6 separate regions of the Homo sapiens genome follow, and all the other regions are linked to region 1. Evidence: promoter capture Hi-C in human tissues and cell types (Jung and others, 2019). All regions are on one chromosome and are shown on one strand. The core of a region is centred on a gene start or on the middle of the fragment in contact, and the rest is flanking DNA. Distances in the headings are between cores, read along the strand shown.

The links. Contacts are between HindIII fragments. The study calls those that stand out against the background at their distance.
Region 2: a contact is called between a fragment that was not itself captured here and the fragment with the promoter of UBIAD1 in region 1, in 8 of the 25 tissues and cell types used here (H1 embryonic stem cells, IMR-90 fibroblasts, aorta and 5 more).
Region 3: a contact is called between the fragment with the promoter of SRM here and the fragment with the promoter of UBIAD1 in region 1, in 1 of the 25 tissues and cell types used here (heart left ventricle).
Region 4: a fragment that was not itself captured here is called in contact with the fragment with the promoter of UBIAD1 in region 1 in 1 of the 25 tissues and cell types used here (liver).
Region 5: a fragment that was not itself captured here is called in contact with the fragment with the promoter of UBIAD1 in region 1 in 1 of the 25 tissues and cell types used here (mesendoderm cells).
Region 6: a fragment that was not itself captured here is called in contact with the fragment with the promoter of UBIAD1 in region 1 in 1 of the 25 tissues and cell types used here (neural progenitor cells).

What each region holds. Positions count from the first base shown.
Region 1 is chr1:11,271,862-11,274,552 of GRCh38, reverse strand. It overlaps UBIAD1 (UbiA prenyltransferase domain containing 1), which reads right to left and starts at 1,355. Exons shown (of 2, transcript NM_013319.3): 1 at 493-1,355. The coding sequence starts at 1,021. RefSeq lists enhancers at 1,087-1,136, 1,227-1,396 and silencers at 1,397-1,446, 1,507-1,776. The HindIII fragment of the contact is 12,769 bases long and covers 1-2,691 here.
Region 2 is chr1:11,491,994-11,494,684 of GRCh38, reverse strand. The region is part of intron 1 of DISP3 (dispatched RND transporter family member 3); the gene reads right to left. Among named protein-coding and RNA genes, the nearest start is that of DISP3, 14 kb to the right of the region's middle. The HindIII fragment of the contact is 6,238 bases long and covers 1-2,691 here.
Region 3 is chr1:11,058,676-11,061,366 of GRCh38, reverse strand. It overlaps SRM (spermidine synthase), which reads left to right and starts at 1,349. Exons shown (of 8, transcript NM_003132.3): 1 at 1,349-1,590; 2 at 2,022-2,142; 3 at 2,475-2,567. The coding sequence starts at 1,424. RefSeq lists silencers at 900-1,429, 1,640-1,829. The HindIII fragment of the contact is 6,396 bases long and covers 1-2,691 here.
Region 4 is chr1:11,080,222-11,082,912 of GRCh38, reverse strand. It overlaps EXOSC10 (exosome component 10), which reads left to right. Exons shown (of 25, transcript NM_001001998.3): 10 at 35-225; 11 at 1,675-1,831; 12 at 2,001-2,149; 13 at 2,364-2,414. Among named protein-coding and RNA genes, the nearest start is that of EXOSC10-AS1, 18 kb to the left of the region's middle. The HindIII fragment of the contact is 3,356 bases long and covers 1-2,691 here.
Region 5 is chr1:11,132,944-11,135,634 of GRCh38, reverse strand. MTOR (mechanistic target of rapamycin kinase) reads left to right here. Exons shown (of 58, transcript NM_004958.4): 37 at 1,169-1,284; 38 at 2,438-2,555. Among named protein-coding and RNA genes, the nearest start is that of MTOR-AS1, 9.6 kb to the left of the region's middle. The HindIII fragment of the contact is 7,755 bases long and covers 1-2,691 here.
Region 6 is chr1:11,406,385-11,409,075 of GRCh38, reverse strand. No RefSeq gene overlaps it. Among named protein-coding and RNA genes, the nearest start is that of DISP3, 71 kb to the left of the region's middle. The HindIII fragment of the contact is 3,403 bases long and covers 1-2,691 here.

The DNA of each region.
Region 1 (2,691 bases), core at 106-2,605:
GGCTGAGGCGGGTGGATCACGAGGTCAGGAAATCGAGACCATCCTGGCCAACATGGTGACACCCCGTCTCTAATAAAAATACAAAAATCAGCCAGGCGTGGTGGCGTGCACCTGTAGTCCCAGCTACTCGGGAGGCTGAGGCAGGAGAATCGCTTGAACACGGGAGGCAGAGGCTGCAGTGGGCCGAGATCGCACCACTGCACTCCAGCCTGGGCGACAGAGCGAGACTCCGTCTCAAAAATGAATACATAAAAAATAAATAAAAATAAATGTCCATATAAAATTTTCAGTCATGCCCTACGTCCGTAAGTCAAACCAGGATCTTCTCAAATCACTGTTTCAAAAAATTCACATCACCCACAATTATAGACTTCAATTAAAGCGGCTTAAATTAGAAAGCCACCTTTGACATCCCTATAACTCCTTTACAAAGCAGCGGTTTCCAGTGGACGCGACTAAGACCTGCAGCACACAGGACAGGCCAAATCTTACCTCCTGTGTAGAGAAAGGAGCCAGACAGGCCTCCAAAGTAGATAAGAGCCAAGTGCTCCAGTTTCAGAGGGGACAGGTAGTAGAGGCAAGCGGCACAGACGCAGCCCAACGTGTAGAGGAAGACTCCGAACCGGACGACATCCTGCGGCTCCAAGATTCGGTCCACAAGTGTCCTGTCATCACTCTTTTTGTGGTCAATGCCCTTGGAAAAGTCATAGTAAGTGTTGACCAAATTACCGGCCCCGTGCACAGCCAGGACAGCCACGGCACAACCCACCAAGAGCCTGGGATCCAGGACACCGTGGGATCTGTAGGCAAGGGCACTGCCCAGGGCCACCGGTGTGAGTGAGGCACTGAAGCTCCAGGGCCTCAGGGCCAACACGTAGGAGGCACACTTCTGCCTCCAGGAGCGCTGGGGGAGCCTATCTTGCTCGGGACAGTCGTTCCCCAGCGGGTCCCTGTCCCCAGCTTTGACAGTCTCTCCCGACAGGATGTTAATCTTCTCCCCCAGGACCTGAGAGGCCGCCATGGAAGCTCCACGTGGTTGAAGTAAACTCTAAAAGTGAGCCACGCACAGTGACCGCCCGGGAAGGAGGAAGGACGGGGCGGGGCAGCAGGGCCCGACCTTCCTTCGGTTCCGCCCCAGGACAGGGCTGGTGTGGCGGCAAGGTCCGGGGGCAACAGCAAGTGGGTCTTACACCCCACGAGGCCAAGCGGCGCCGCCCCTACTACCCGTCACCTGGGCGAAGTCTGTCTCCGGCCCCCAGCCCCGCGTTAGAGCCCACGGCTGAGCCGCGGCCGCCTTCTTTAGGCCGCCAGAGCCGCCATCTTGTGCGCCGGCCTCTGGAGGCCCGCCCGGAAACAGGTGCCGGCGGCGCGGGCTGGACCGGAGGGTGGGCTGGAGGGCGGGAGGGGGCGGGGCCGAGCCAGAGGCGGGGAGAAGGGCGGTGAGGGGTGGGGGGCGGGGGCCTGGTCAGAGGCGGGGCGGGCAGGGCCGAGTCAGAGGAGGGGCGGGGTCAGAGGCGGGGAGAAGGGCGGTGAGGGGTGGGGCGGGGCTGAGGGGCGGGGCCAGACCGGTGGTGGGGCGGGAGGGGGCGGGGCCGGGGCGGGAATGGACCGGGAGCGGGGACGGGCCAGGAGCTGGGGCCGGGCGGTGACCCGGCATCCAGCCCTTTTCCTGCCTGCACTGCGCCCCGCAGCTACTTCCAGACTAACTGCAATCAGCCTCTCTTAGCATCATAAGAACTCGAAGGCGTGTTGCTTTAGGACTTACCGGGCGCACTTTCATTCACGAAGTAGGATTCATTAATTTATTCATGCTACAAGCATTTATTGAGCGCCTGCTGTGTGCATACATTCTGACGTCTATCATATCTGCACCGTGGAAATACTCTATGATGTGCTACTGCTCACCTCTTATCAGCTTTTCATTCAGTGACATCCTTCAGCAGCTTGAAATCTGCCCATGGTGGGAGAATTTACACCACGCAAATCAGCAAATGCTTAATAACTGCTAAGTCGTCTAGACTTAAGAAAGTGGCGGAGAAAATGTTCATATTACTGGTTAAACTTAAAAGTGTTGGAGGGTGCGGTGGCTCACGCCTGTAATCCCAGCACTTTGGAAGGCCGAGGCAGGCGGATCACTTGATGTCAGGAGTTCGACATCAGCCTGGCCAACATAGCGAAACCCTGTCTCTACTAAAAATACAAAAATTAGCCGTGCGTGGTGGCAGGCACCTGTAATCCCAGCTACTCGGGAGGCTGGGGCAGGAGAATTGCTTGAACCCGGGAGATGGAGGTTGCAGTGAGCCAAGATCATGCCAATGGGCTCCAGCCTGGGCAACAGAGTGAGACTCCATCTCAAAAAAAAAAAAAAAATTAGCCGGGGGTGGTGGTGCATTCCTGTAATCACAGCTACTCGGGAGGCTGAGGCAGGAGAATTGCTTGAACCCTGGAGGCAGAGGCTGCAGTGAGCCAAGATCACGCCACTGCACTCCAGCCTGGGCAGTAGAGCGAGACTCCGTCTCAAAAAAGAAAAAAAAGAGAGAAAAAAAGTGTGTAAGTGAATGCACCAAAACTTTGAGGAAATATTCGTTCAGCATTGGCAAATTATTATCCAGTTGAACAAATAAGTCGCTTGTAGCCTTGACAAACTAGTGAAGTTCTGACATATCTCTTTTGATTGTTTCACTTTCCTCT
Region 2 (2,691 bases), core at 110-2,609, 220 kb before region 1:
GAACATCTTGAGGTCTTTGATTCTCTTACCCTTGGGTCGAGAGTTTTGGGCAGAAGCTCAAAATGAGTTATTTTGAGTTGAACAGCTCCAGAGAAGGGAGGAAAGAAAAGAGGAGGCCTTGGTGCCTCCCAGGCATCACTGTCCTACGTCCTGATACTCCGTCTTCTGAGAATCCACCGCTCTCCGGATGTCCTGGCTATGTGCCAGTCATCAGAATCCCAAACCTTTCCCCGAGACCTGGACACTCCACCTAGGCCAGGAGGCTGGAGAGGCACTGGAGATGTGGTGGTGAAACGGGCAAAATCACACACATGGAGTGCAGTCAAAAGCCCAGCTAGTTCAGCCCAGCTAGTTCAATGCAGAAACTCTGACACCCATTAAGACCATCATAATAATTAACTCTGCATCTACCACGTGCCAGTACTCCTTATCCATCCTCTGTCATCCTCACATCAGCCCTGCAAGGACGCTAGGGAAGGCATTATGAGCATTCACTTTTTACAGAAGCAAAATCAGAATCAGAGAGGTTAAGTGACTCCCTGGTGGTCACACAGCTACTAAGGGGCAGAACTGGAGTTTGAACCCCAGGTCTATTGATCCTAAAGCCCAGGCTCTTTTGGCCATACCAGGTAGCCTATGAGCTCTTTGAGAGCTGATATGTCAGTACTTGTTGAAGAAACCCATTGCCTTTTAGCAAGTTTGCCCCATCCCCATAAGACCACAGATCACTCGGGGCCTGGCAATTCTGCTTTCAGCAGGTGGCAACTCAGGGCATGATGTAAAGGAAGTCTCCCACCAACCTCAGAAGCTTGGCTTTCCCTTCAATGGGTCATGGGTGTGATGGTTAATTCTATGTGTCAACTTGACTGGACTATGGGGTGCCCAGATATTTGGCCAAACATGATTCTGGGTGTGTGTGTGAGAGAGAGAGTGTGTTTCCAGATAAGATTTTTTTTTTTTTGAGATGGAGTCTTGCTCTGTTGCCCAGGCTTGAGTGTGGTGGCATGATCTCAGCTCACTGCAACCTCCACCTCTGAGGTTCAAATGATTCTCCTGTCTCAGCCTCCCAAGTAGCTGGGATTACAGGTGCATGCCACCATGCCTGGCTAATTTTTGTATTTTTAGTAGAGACGGGGTTTCGCCATGTTGGCCAGGCTGGTCTTGAACTCCTACCTCAAGTGATCCGCCCACCTCCGCCTCCCAAAGTGCTAGGATTACAGGAGTGAGCCACCAAGCCCAGCCTCCAGATAAGATCAGCATCAGTACACAGAGTAAAGCAGATGGTTCTCACTAATGAGGGTGGGCCTCAACGAATCAGTTGAAGATCTGAATAGAATGAAAAGGCTAAGAGGAAATTGTTTTTGTTGACTGCTAGAGCTTGGACATTGGTCTTTTCTGGCCTTTGGACTCAAGCTGAAATATCAGCTCTTCTTGGGTCTTCAGCCTGCCAGCTATCAGACTAGAACTTACACCATTGGCCCTCCTGGTTCTCAGGCCTTCAGTCTCAAACTGCAACTATACCATCAGCTCTCCTGGGTCTCCAGCTTGCTGCCTGCAGATCTTGGGGCTTCTCAGCCTCCATAATCACATAAGCCAATTCCTTCTAATAAATCTCTCTCTGATATATATATGCTATTGGTTATTTTCTTCTGGAGAACCCTAATACAATGGGGCCGTGAAGCATCCCAGAGAGAAAGTAGGAGTGAAGCAGGGAGCCCCATCCTAGCAGCTGGATCCTAGGGCCCTCCCAGAGTCTTCTCTGAAGATGTTCCAAGTCCTACCTAGAATCTCAAATGAACACGGCAACAGAGCCAGGGAATGCCTTCCAGATCCATAGAGGAAGGGGTATGGCTGAGTGACTTTCCACACTTGTCTGAGCTCTTTCCCCAGCAAGAAGATCCTGAATCTATCACCCCATATCTCCTGCCCCAGCCCCAGGGAAACCTGGCTTTGTGGCTGCAGCTGAAGCAAGCACCTACCTCTACTCCCCATCACCCCTGCTGCCCCCTAAGAAACACGATCTTTGTTGGCTCAATTTGCCAGCCGGAAATTCAGAGGGGGTACAAATGACCATTCCTCTCTGCAAAGAAAATCTGGGCTTATTATTAGAAGCCCAGGTGGGGGTGGGGAGAGGAATCGGGTGGGGGCTCTGTGGCGAGCCTGTCCAAGCCCCCCATTTCTCAGAGAAGGTCAGGCTGCACAGATGGAGTGGATGAAGGATGACTGGCCTCCTGGGGCTGACAGCTGGTGAGGAAACTATGGGCGCTGACTCGAAAAACCCAATGGCTCAATATTTATCAGGCAAACAAGCTTTGCCTGGGTCAATATATCACCTGAGGAAACGTCCCAGCCAACACCAGAGGGATCCAACGTTCATGGGCACAACAGCCACTATCACTTTTCCTGTTCTGGTGTCCCCTCTCTAGTGGGCTCAGTGGGACAGAACCCGACCCCCTAACACCAAGAGGGAAATCTGTAAAATGGGGATGGTGATACTGCTCCCCTGCTGAACCAGAGCAGCTAGTACGATTATTAACTTCTTTTTTTTTTTTTTTTTTTTTTTGAGACGGAGTCTCGCTCTGTCGCCCAGGCTGGAGTGCAGTGGCGGGATCTCGGCTCACTGCAAGCTCCGCCTCCCGGGTTCACGCCATTCTCCTGCCTCAGCCTCCCAAGTAGCTGGGACTACAGGCG
Region 3 (2,691 bases), core at 100-2,599, 210 kb after region 1:
CTGCCTCAGCCTCCCGAGTAGCTGGGACTGCAGGCGCGCACTACCATGCCCAGCTAATTTTTGTATTTTTAGTACAGACGGGGTTTCACCATGTTGGCCAGGATCGTCTTGATCTCTTGACCTCGTGATCCGCCCGCCTCCGCCTCCGCCTCCCACAGTGCTGGGATTACCGGGGTGAACCATCACGCCCAGGCACCTAGCAATTCTTTAGCGGTCTTGGTTTACCTCCCCTTTAGAAGGAGCTTAAAAGCAAGCAAGGCACATTGTTGCCTAGGCTTGAGGCTTGCTCTCACCCATAAACAACGCTGTTACTCTGCTCTGGGGACGACACAGGAAACGTTCCCCACCTCCAGGTGGAGGCTGCAAAACGTGTCAAAACCATCCCTGACATAATGTCAAGAGTAGCTTATACTAGTTTCATCTTCCTTCCTTGGCATTCGAACTGCGTGTGGAACAATTAGCATTTAATATTTGGTAATTAGCATGCTTAATGTGATTCTGAGAAGTTCTTTGACATTCTCATAAAAACAGCACATTCCCACCCACCCTTCAAAGAGCAAGACCCAGTTTGTCAAGAAAAATTGCGTGCCAGTCTTTTCTGGTGCTGAATATGTATGTTCTGGGCCTCTTCCTGGACACTGCTGGTAAATTTAGAAACTCGTTTAGAAAAGCACTTCTCTCGTATTCAACAGCCTATAGGCTCATGGCGCAGAATCTAAGGGAAAATGGCTAAATCCAGCTTGTGAATTCGCGGGCTGTGATGATTCTTTCCAAGTAAATAAAAACCCTCGGTTCGCCCCGACGAGCCACATAATCTGTTCAAATCCAACAAGGAACCAGATTTTGGACGCAAAGAAGGATACGTTCTACTCGCCCCGTGCAACAACGTAAACCACTGTAGCCACCCGCTCCCGTGTCTCCAGCCCAAAGGCTGACTCTCCAGTCCGCACGTCGCAGCGCTCTTGCCCTCCACACCAAGCCCGAGTCCCGCAGCCCCTCGAGGCCCTCGGTGCCTCCCAACCCCGAGAAGGAAGCGGGGGCCGGTGGTGCACCGCCCCGGCTGCTTGGGGCGGAGGAAGGACCCGGACCCCTTCCGCCGGCCCAGCCCGCCCCGGAACCCGACCCGGCCGCCCGGCCCCGGCCGGGCCCCACGTGGCCCCTGGAGCGGGCCGCACTACCCTGCTGCCGCCGACGGACGGCGCGCCACAGCCACTCTGCGCCGCTCTGCGAGCCGGTGGCCAATGAGCGCCAGGCGAGGCCGCTTTGCCATTGGCGAGCGCGGGCTCCGCCCCCGCCGGCAGGCCCCGCCCCGCGCCCGGGTTAGGTTGCGGCGCGGGCGGCGGGCGGAGCTGGTCCCGTTGTGCTGCGGCGCCGCGCGGCCTGCAGTCCCGGGCCCGCGCCCCGCGCCGCCCGCCCGCCCGCCATGGAGCCCGGCCCCGACGGCCCCGCCGCCTCCGGCCCCGCCGCCATCCGCGAGGGCTGGTTCCGCGAGACCTGCAGCCTGTGGCCCGGCCAGGCCCTGTCACTGCAGGTGGAGCAGCTGCTCCACCACCGGCGCTCGCGCTACCAGGACATCCTCGTCTTCCGCAGGTACCGCCGCTGCCCGCAGGCGCCTGCCCCCTAGGCTCAGCCCGGGCCGCCTGCTGCCCGCCTCACGGGCCTCTCCACGCCGGGACCCAAGCGGGCTGGACCTCGTCCTGCCCTGGCCCCCTCGCCACCCCTCACACCGCCTCCCTGGGCTGGGGCTGGGACTGCGGGCTGGCCTCTTGGGTGGGGGAGTCGGAGTCTGCGCCCCGCTCCACGTGTCAGCCCTCAGGACACGTCAGAGCCCGAGGAGACCCCGGGTCCCACCCCGGCCTCCACCCGGCGGCCCGCCTGCCGTTCCTCGCCACGTGTCACCATCGCTCCTCATCCCTGGGACCCCTAGGCGGGATGGGGAGACCCTCCTCACCCAGGGCGGCTTGGGGTACGTTTTCCCCACCCCAGAGAACCCAGGTCCCCGACTGTCACTCCGCCCGCAGTAAGACCTATGGCAACGTGCTGGTGTTGGACGGTGTCATCCAGTGCACGGAGAGAGACGAGTTCTCCTACCAGGAGATGATCGCCAACCTGCCTCTCTGCAGCCACCCCAACCCGCGAAAGGTACCCCAGTGTCCCCTGGAACAGTGCCGGACGAGGGGCGGCCCCAGGTGTGCTCCGGGCTCTTCCCAGATGCTGCCTGCATGGTTGTCAGAGAAAGTGCTAGCGAGGCCAGGGGCGTCCCGCGGAGGGGTGGGGGCCGACACTGACGCGGCCTCGGAATCCTAGGGCAGCCCTGGAAGGAACTTCCAGGAAAGGGGACACCGGCACGAAAGCGTTTCCGAGGGTAGAAAAAGATGAGGCCCGTGGGTCCGAGGGGTCAGGGGGTCTGCTTCAGGGGCCTGGGGGCTCCCAGTCCTGCCAGGGCCCCTGCCTTGACTGCCCCCTCCTCCCAGGTGCTGATCATCGGGGGCGGAGATGGAGGTGTCCTGCGGGAGGTGGTGAAGCACCCCTCCGTGGAGTCCGTGGTCCAGTGTGAGATCGACGAGGTGAGTGCCGGCGTAGAGCCAGGTTTGAGTCCTGGTTCTCCCAGCGGCCAGCTGTGCCCTGAAATGGCTGCACACCCCCGAGCAAGGCAGGTAGGGCCTGTTTCTCCATCTGGAAAACACCTGG
Region 4 (2,691 bases), core at 129-2,628, 190 kb after region 1:
CCAGTGTACTGCATGACTTTGGTTCTGTTTTCAGGTCTTTCATGGTGCTGATTCAGACATAGAATGGCTACAGAAAGACTTTGGGTTGTATGTAGTAAACATGTTTGATACTCATCAGGCAGCACGCCTTCTTAACCTGGGCAGGCACTCACTCGATCATCTCCTGAAACTCTACTGCAACGTGGACTCAAACAAGCAATATCAGCTGGCTGATTGGAGAATACGGTCAGTTTGCTCTTACTGAGGAAATGTGGGTGGCAGAAGAAAGTGATTATTCATTAACCTGTCGTCCAGAGAGACCTGGGTTTGAGCCCTACCACGCTCATTGAGATGAATGGCATCAGGCTTTTCGCCAGGCATCTTCAGCAGCGTAAAAGTGGTAGGAAATTTTTTAATGCTAAGGTGGACTTTATGATGGGCTGATGCAGTTACACTGTGTTCCATGGAAATAGTGGTTGAAAAAGAGGTGCCGCACCAGTATTTGCCCATGCTGGTCTTTTGTTTGAAACTGGGATCTTTCTACCAGATGATTTTGTGTGTGTGTAAGATCTTCTGTAGGGATGATTGTGTGTGTGTGTGTGTGTGCAAGATGACCTTCCATAGGTGGGAAAGAATTCTAAGGGACACTGTTGTTTAGCTTTACACTGAGCGTTTTTTTGTGGCATAAGGTAGCAGTTTTGCCCCACTTCCTGCAGGCCTTGCTCAGCTTGGTCGTTTTCCGCTTGGTTGCTACCTCTCCGAGGTTGCACCTGTCATAGGAAGGTGCTACTGAGCTTTTTCAGGAATTCCACATGCCAGAATGCCAGAATTTCTTTTTTTCTTTTTTTTTTTTTGAGATGCAGTTTCACTGTTGCCCAGGCTGGAGTGCAATGGCGCGATCTCGGCTCACCACAACCTCTGCCTCCCGGGTTCAAGCAATTCTCCTGCCTCAGCCTCCTGAGTAGCTAGGATTACAGGCGTGCACCACCACGCCCAGCTAATTTTGTATTTCCAGTAGAGACGAGGTTTCTCCATGTTGGTCAGACTGGTCTCAAACTCCTGACCTCAGGTGATCCTCCCGCCTCCGCCTCCCAAAGTGCTGGGATTACAGGCGTGAGCCACCGCGCCTGGCCCAGAATGCCAGAATTTCTAAATATAAAAGTAAAATTACATTTGGACTGATAAAATCCAAATAAAAGATAAAAATTGATAAAATCTAAAAACCACTCCCTGTTACGGAGCCCTTACCCTGTGCCAAGCTCTGGGCTAAGTGCTTCAAGGATGTGGTCCTGTGTAGTCCTCACAACAGCCTATGAAGTACCTGGTTCCCATTTCACAAGTTAGGTGGGTCAGCCCAAAGAGGTTAAGGAACTTGTCCAAGGACAGACATCTGGAGCTGAGATTTGAACTCAGGACACCAGTGGCCCCTTTTCTACTGCCTCTTGTGTGTGTCCAGAGTAGCTGACAGTGCCCTTATTTTAACCACCGCATTACCCTGCCTCCAATTCTACCCAGCTGTTAAAATAATGGTTTATCATGTTAAAATGCAGGAAATGTTGGCATAACTGCAGTATTGACTATGAAAGGATCTTTCATATTGGAAGGGTCTAAGGAAGTCCCAGCACCCAAGGAATAGACAAATTGAATTGCTGTCCTTGGGGGCAATCAGTAAAACATTGTCCTCTGCAATTCCAGCCCTCTGCCCGAGGAGATGCTCAGCTACGCCCGGGATGACACCCATTACCTGCTATATATCTATGACAAAATGAGGCTGGAGATGTGGGAGCGCGGCAACGGGCAGCCGGTGCAGCTGCAGGTGGTGTGGCAACGGAGCAGGGACATCTGCCTCAAGGTACACCTCAGCCGCAGTCACACAGACCGCGACACTTGGGCTCTGTGTCTGGCCAGGTTCTAGTTCTTAGGTTTGCTCCTTACATTCATGAAAAGAGCCAAACATTTTCCAGAGCCCAGGGCACAATTTTGATTCCCGTTGATTTTGAATGTTCTCTAATACTTTGTAGAAATTCATCAAACCTATCTTCACGGATGAGTCCTACCTTGAACTCTATAGGAAGCAGAAGAAGCACCTTAACACACAGCAGTTGACAGCCTTTCAGCTGCTGTTTGCCTGGAGGGATAAAACAGCTCGCAGGGAAGATGAAAGTTACGGGTAAGGGATTAGAGGTTCTTTTAATACTTGTTTCCAGACTGAGGAGATCTAATAACAAGTAAATAATGGGCTTTTTTCTTTTGCTATGAAAGCTGGTTATTTCCCCTATGTGACAGCATCTAATGGAACTTACTGGCTGAATGTAATGTGTCCCCACCGTGTGTGTGTGTGTGTGTGTGTGTGTGTGTGTGTGTGTGTGTTTTTTTTTTTCCAGATATGTACTGCCAAACCACATGATGCTGAAAATAGCTGAAGAACTGCCTAAGTGAGTTTCAAATCTGATTAATATGTTCTGACTTTCTCAGTAGATCTGATGTTCTTCAAAATCAAGCTTTTCTGGTTGCTATTACCCAAGGCTGCTTACTCAGAGATTAATGCTCCAAGCTTGGAAGGTAGCAAGTTGAAGGAATATAGAATTTCTGCCCTCAGGCTGCCATTTAAGCACTAAAACTTCTGAACTGGAATCATTTCAATGATTATGCCTTAGTTTGAGTTTATTTTAAGTCTCTGAGCCTTATAGCATCTACTTGCAAGGGAAGAAA
Region 5 (2,691 bases), core at 133-2,632, 140 kb after region 1:
CTGGAACTCCTGACCTCAGGTGATCCACCCGCCTCGGCCTCCTAAAGTGCTGGGATTACAGGTGTGAGCCACTGCACCTGGCTAACATGTTTTTATTTAAAACAAACAAAAATACCTCTTATATGATTTACCATAAGGAGAACTGTTATTTATCTGAAGTCTTGATTTTTTCCTTCTTCTGCAGCACAGAACACATTGCCTCTTTTTCACATTCTCTCATATAATGTTTCCTTTCCCTGTGTTAATGCATTTAGATTTTGCCATTTTTCCATTTGAGCTTTTGATGTTTGTACATTCTATCTCCATCCTTGAAGCCCTTTATTATTATTTTTTTTTCTATTTGTGGGTTTTCCCCCCTCTAGAAAAACCAGAAAAGATTTGTTTTTCCCTTTAAAAGTGATATGGACCGCACTTATCAAGATGCTGGTTCAACTGGATGTGGCGGGCTTGTACAGTAGTCCCAGATCTGTGATTCTGTCTCTGCCCTTCCTCAGTTCAGCTGTCTGTTCCTGACTCACATGCCCTCTGCTCACTTTGTATACAAGCCGGTAGTATAAATAGATCTAGCTGCTTTAGGATGCTCTGGAGATTTTGCCCCTAAGTCACCCTGTTCAACCAGATGTCTGCTGAGCTAATATCTTCTCCCTATTCCCTGTGAATGCATGCGGGTTTTCACTCCAAATCTGTGTTCTTATTTGGGTGCTATATGATTTTTAAATCCATAGTTTTTGCTCCGCTGGACTGTCCAAGGTACCCTGGTGTTGTAAACAAATACCAAAGTTTTATTAGCCTGAAACAATTCCCAAAAGCCTAATATCCCCCAGGGTAACATATTGATAGTGAAGTAAGCAGTTGTTTCAAATTACTTTGTAGGAATTTTTATTTGGGGTAGCCAGGCATGAAACTTTGCCAAGGCTTATAAAACTGGTAATTATAGTTGGCAAAGGAGAGCCAAGACTTGAGTTGAATAAGTCATGAATCTTTTTGAAAAGCCCAGTCTCTCCCAGTATCACGCCCTGGTCCTCTGTCCTATGGGGTCATCATTCTGTGCTCTAGGGTATTCTGTTTGGAGAGGGGTTGACTCATGCCTATCAGATGAACGGTAGCTCCCTTCCTCTGAAGCTGGGCCACAAGCCAAGTGGCTCTCTGTGCCTTTGTCCTGTTACAGATCGATGCCTTCCAGCACATGCAGCATTTTGTCCAGACCATGCAGCAACAGGCCCAGCATGCCATCGCTACTGAGGACCAGCAGCATAAGCAGGAACTGCACAAGCTCATGGCCCGGTGAGGTCCCCACTGACCTGGGGCAAGTCATATTCCAGCCCTGTCATCCCAGCAGCTTCTGCAGCAAGGAGGAGTTCAAGGCTTCTTGGGTGGCTGATTGCTGACATCTCTCTTTCCTTTTCCAGTAGGGATCCCAGGCAACCACCAAAGCATACTGCTCTCAAAGTCTCTGCCACTTGCTTTCCTAGGTTCAGCAGCCCAAGAGCACCCATGTGCTGTTCTCCTGGCGTCTGGTTTTAGAGTCCTTGTTTTCAAATGTCAGATATGCTGCCCCTCCCTTTTTTTTTTTTAAGATGGTCTTGCTGTGTCACCCAGGCTAGAGTATAGCCTTGATCTCCTGGGCTTAAGCAATCCTCCCACCTCAGTTTCCCAAGTAGCTATAGGCACGTGCCACCACACTGGCTAGTTTTTTGTAGAAATGAGGTCTCTACAAAAGAACAGGCATAGAGCCTGCATTTCCTCCTACAAGTTTAATGTTGCCCAGGCTGGTCTCAAACTCCTGTGCTCCAGCCAGCCTCCCTCCACAGCCTTCCAAAATGCTGGGATTATAGGTGTGGGCCACTGTGCCACTCTGTGCTGCAGATTTGATATTTGACTTCAGAGAAGTGACTTAACCTCTCTATGCCTCAGTTACCAATATAAAAGGGATAGTAACAGTTTCTATTTCCTAGGGTGGTATAAAGTAGTGTGAGGATTAATGCAAAGAGTACAATGCCAAGCATTTCAAGCAGCACTTGGAATACAGTAGCAGTCAGTAAATGTGGGCTAATCTCATTACAAAGAATGGAGGCAAAGGGAAAAGTAAGGGAGAAGCCATATAGCAATCAATAAAGAAGTAACTCTCAACTGTCACCCACAAAAAATTGGGTTTGGGGTAGGTAAGTCCATACAGACCTATCTGTACCAGGTACATGGTTTATGCTGTCATTGAGAGACAAAGGTCAAGATGGAAAGATGGTATCTTAAAAATGTATTCCAAAAGCCCATCTCCTTTCTTGCGTGTGGCTGAAAATTTTGCTAGCTCCTTCACATTGCCTCTTGAGAATAAGAGGAAATACCAGAAGGGCTTCAGTGTCCCCTAACAATTTGTGGTCCTCTTAGGAGGGCTGTTTTGAGGAGGGAATGTCATGGGGGCTTGTTTCTCTGCTTCCAGATGCTTCCTGAAACTTGGAGAGTGGCAGCTGAATCTACAGGGCATCAATGAGAGCACAATCCCCAAAGTGCTGCAGTACTACAGCGCCGCCACAGAGCACGACCGCAGCTGGTACAAGGTGATCAGAAGCAGGCCACCTGTGAGACCCAGCACCCTGGCTGGCTCGTGTCCTCCTGTGTGCTCGTGGTTACAGCTGAGCTTCTGCGGAGCTAGGCTGATGCTGTGAACTTACTCCTTGAGTCCCTGGAGCCTAT
Region 6 (2,691 bases), core at 80-2,579, 130 kb before region 1:
GGGCAAGAGGTCTAACTTTTGGCCTCTCTTGGCTTTCAATATGCCTTCCTCACTAAGCTTAATCATTTCTAGCTTTTGATGTAAAGTGGGAGACGTGTGACTCTTCCTTTCACTTGAATACTTAGAGGCCACTGTAGGACTATTAATTGGCCTAATTGCAATATTATTGTGTCTCTGAGAATCAGGAGGCCTGAAGAGAGAGAGAAGGGGGCACTGGGAACACACACAACATTTATTAAGTTTGCCATCTTCTATGGGCACAGTTTGTGGCACCCCAAAACAATTACAATAGTAATGTCAAAGATCGCAGATCACCATAACAGAGATAATAATAATGAAAAAGTTTCAAAGATTGTGAAGATTATGGAGAGACGTGAACTGAGCTCATGCTGTTGGAAAAAATGGCGCCAATAGACTTGCTCAATGCAGGGTTGCCAGAAGCCCTCAATTTGTTAAAAAAATAAAATAAAAATAAAAGGCAATATCCGCAAAACCCAAGAAAGCTAAGTGCAATAAAACGAGGTGTGCCTATAATTTGAATTATTTCTGCCAACACCATCGAGTCACATTTTAAGGGCCTTCGTGCTGAGCTCCCCAAGGGGGACCGTGTCTTAATGGATCTCTACATCCTCTTTGGCTAACCCAGGACTTGGCCCCTAGTAGGTACTCAAGGAAGTGTTTGTGACATGAATAAGTGAATGAATGAAGGATAAATAAAACTGGGCCCTATGGCTAAGTTCTGGAGATACTTTCCCAATACAGGACCTCTGAAATTGCTGGATGAAGCATTTAAAATGCTTTTTAATGCATGGATAGGTTTGTGGGAAAGTAAAGAAAACCTTCAAAGTTGCAAGAATGCAACTCCAGAGAAGTGAGTGAGCTGGCACTGAAGCCAGCACTTCCACGGGGGCATCTGGTCAGCCGAAAGCCTGGCCTTTGATGCTCTGTGTTATAACAGCAAGAAACAAAGCCGGTCTGGGCAAGGTGGGAGATGAAATTTGCCAACTGTATTAGTCCGTTTTCATGCTGCTGACAAAGACATGCCTGAGACTGGGCAATTTACAAAAGAAAGAGGTTTATCAGACTTACAGTTCCACATGGCTGGGAGGCCTTACAATCATGGCGGAAGGAGGAGCAAGTCACATTTTTCGTGGATGGCAGCAGGCAAAAGGAGAGCTTGTGCAGGGAAACTCCCGTTTTTAAAAACCGTCAGATCTCGTGAGACCCATTCACTATCACCAGAACAGCACGGGAAAGACACGCCCCCTGATTCAATCATCTCCCGCTGGCTCCCTCCCACAACTTGTGGGGATTATGGGAGCTACAGGATAAGATTTGGGTGGGGACACAGAGCCAAACCATATCACCAACCACACATAAAGCAAGGTCTTCCGAACATGAACTAGAAAAGCCTGCCTTGGCTCTGGTGGGAAGGGAAAAATAAAAACCAGAAAAAAAAAAAGAAAAAGTCTTCCTTCCTGAGAATCTTAACCACCAGCTTGCCCTTATGTGGGCGTGGGGCCAGAATTCATTCTACTTATGCGGCCTAAAAAACCACAAGCAGAAAATCAGCCCACCGTTAACAGCAGCACCTGGCAGAAATATACACCAATCTTCTCTGAAGAAACAGCCCTAAGGCCAGGCCTCCACGAATTCCTGTAGAAAACAAGTTCCAAGAAAGTGCACAGTAGAGAAAAAGTCAAAACACACAGGAAACAAGCTACTGTGAGCAGGGGCCACCAAAAACAGCAACTGCAAACCAGACATGCACAGGTGGCCAATGTTGAATTATCAGACATTGCATATAAAATAAACATGCAAGGATTTTAAAACGTAAAAGTGGATAGCAAAAGTATGACAAAGGAAAATGAGATTATGAAAAATTACCAGATTGATTTGAAAAAGAGTCCAATAAAATATCTAGAGATGAGAAGTTTAATAATTGAAAGTAGAAACTTCATGAATGAAACAGAAGATGAGACAGCTGAGGAGAGAATTAGTGAACTGGAAAAGACATAAAAATACATTTCTTGCCTGGCACAGTGGCTCACGCCTGTAATTCCAGCCCTGTGGGAGGTCGAGGTGGGTGGATCACTTGAGGCCAGGAGTTCAAAACCAGCCTGGCCACATGGCAAAACCACACTCCCCAGGCCCCTGTCTCTATGAAAATTACGAAAAAAGTAGCTGTGCGTGGTGGCACACGCCTGTAGTCCTAGCTACTCAGGAGGCTGAGGCAGAAGAATCACTTGAACCCAAGAGACGGAGGTTGCAGTGAGCCGAGATCATGCCACTGCACTTCAGCCTGGGCAACAGAGCAAAACTCTGTCTCAAAAAATAAAAAATAAATACATTTCTCAGAAGGTAGCAGAGGGAGACAAACAAATGGAAGATATAAAAGAGAGATTAAGAGAGGTGGGGATGAAATGAGAAGATCGAGTATGTGTCTAATCAGAGTTCCAGAAGGAGATATCAGAGGTAACAGTGGAGAGTCAAATTCAAAGAGAAGATAGCTGAGAATTTTCCAGAACTATTACTCTAAACTTCAGAAAGCTCAATGAATCTCAAGCAGGATAAATTAAAAGAGATCTCCACCTAAAAACACCATAGCAAAACCATGGAACATCATAGACAAAGAGAAAACCTTCAAAGCAGCCAAAGATAAAAGAGAGATTACCTAAAAAGGAACATCAA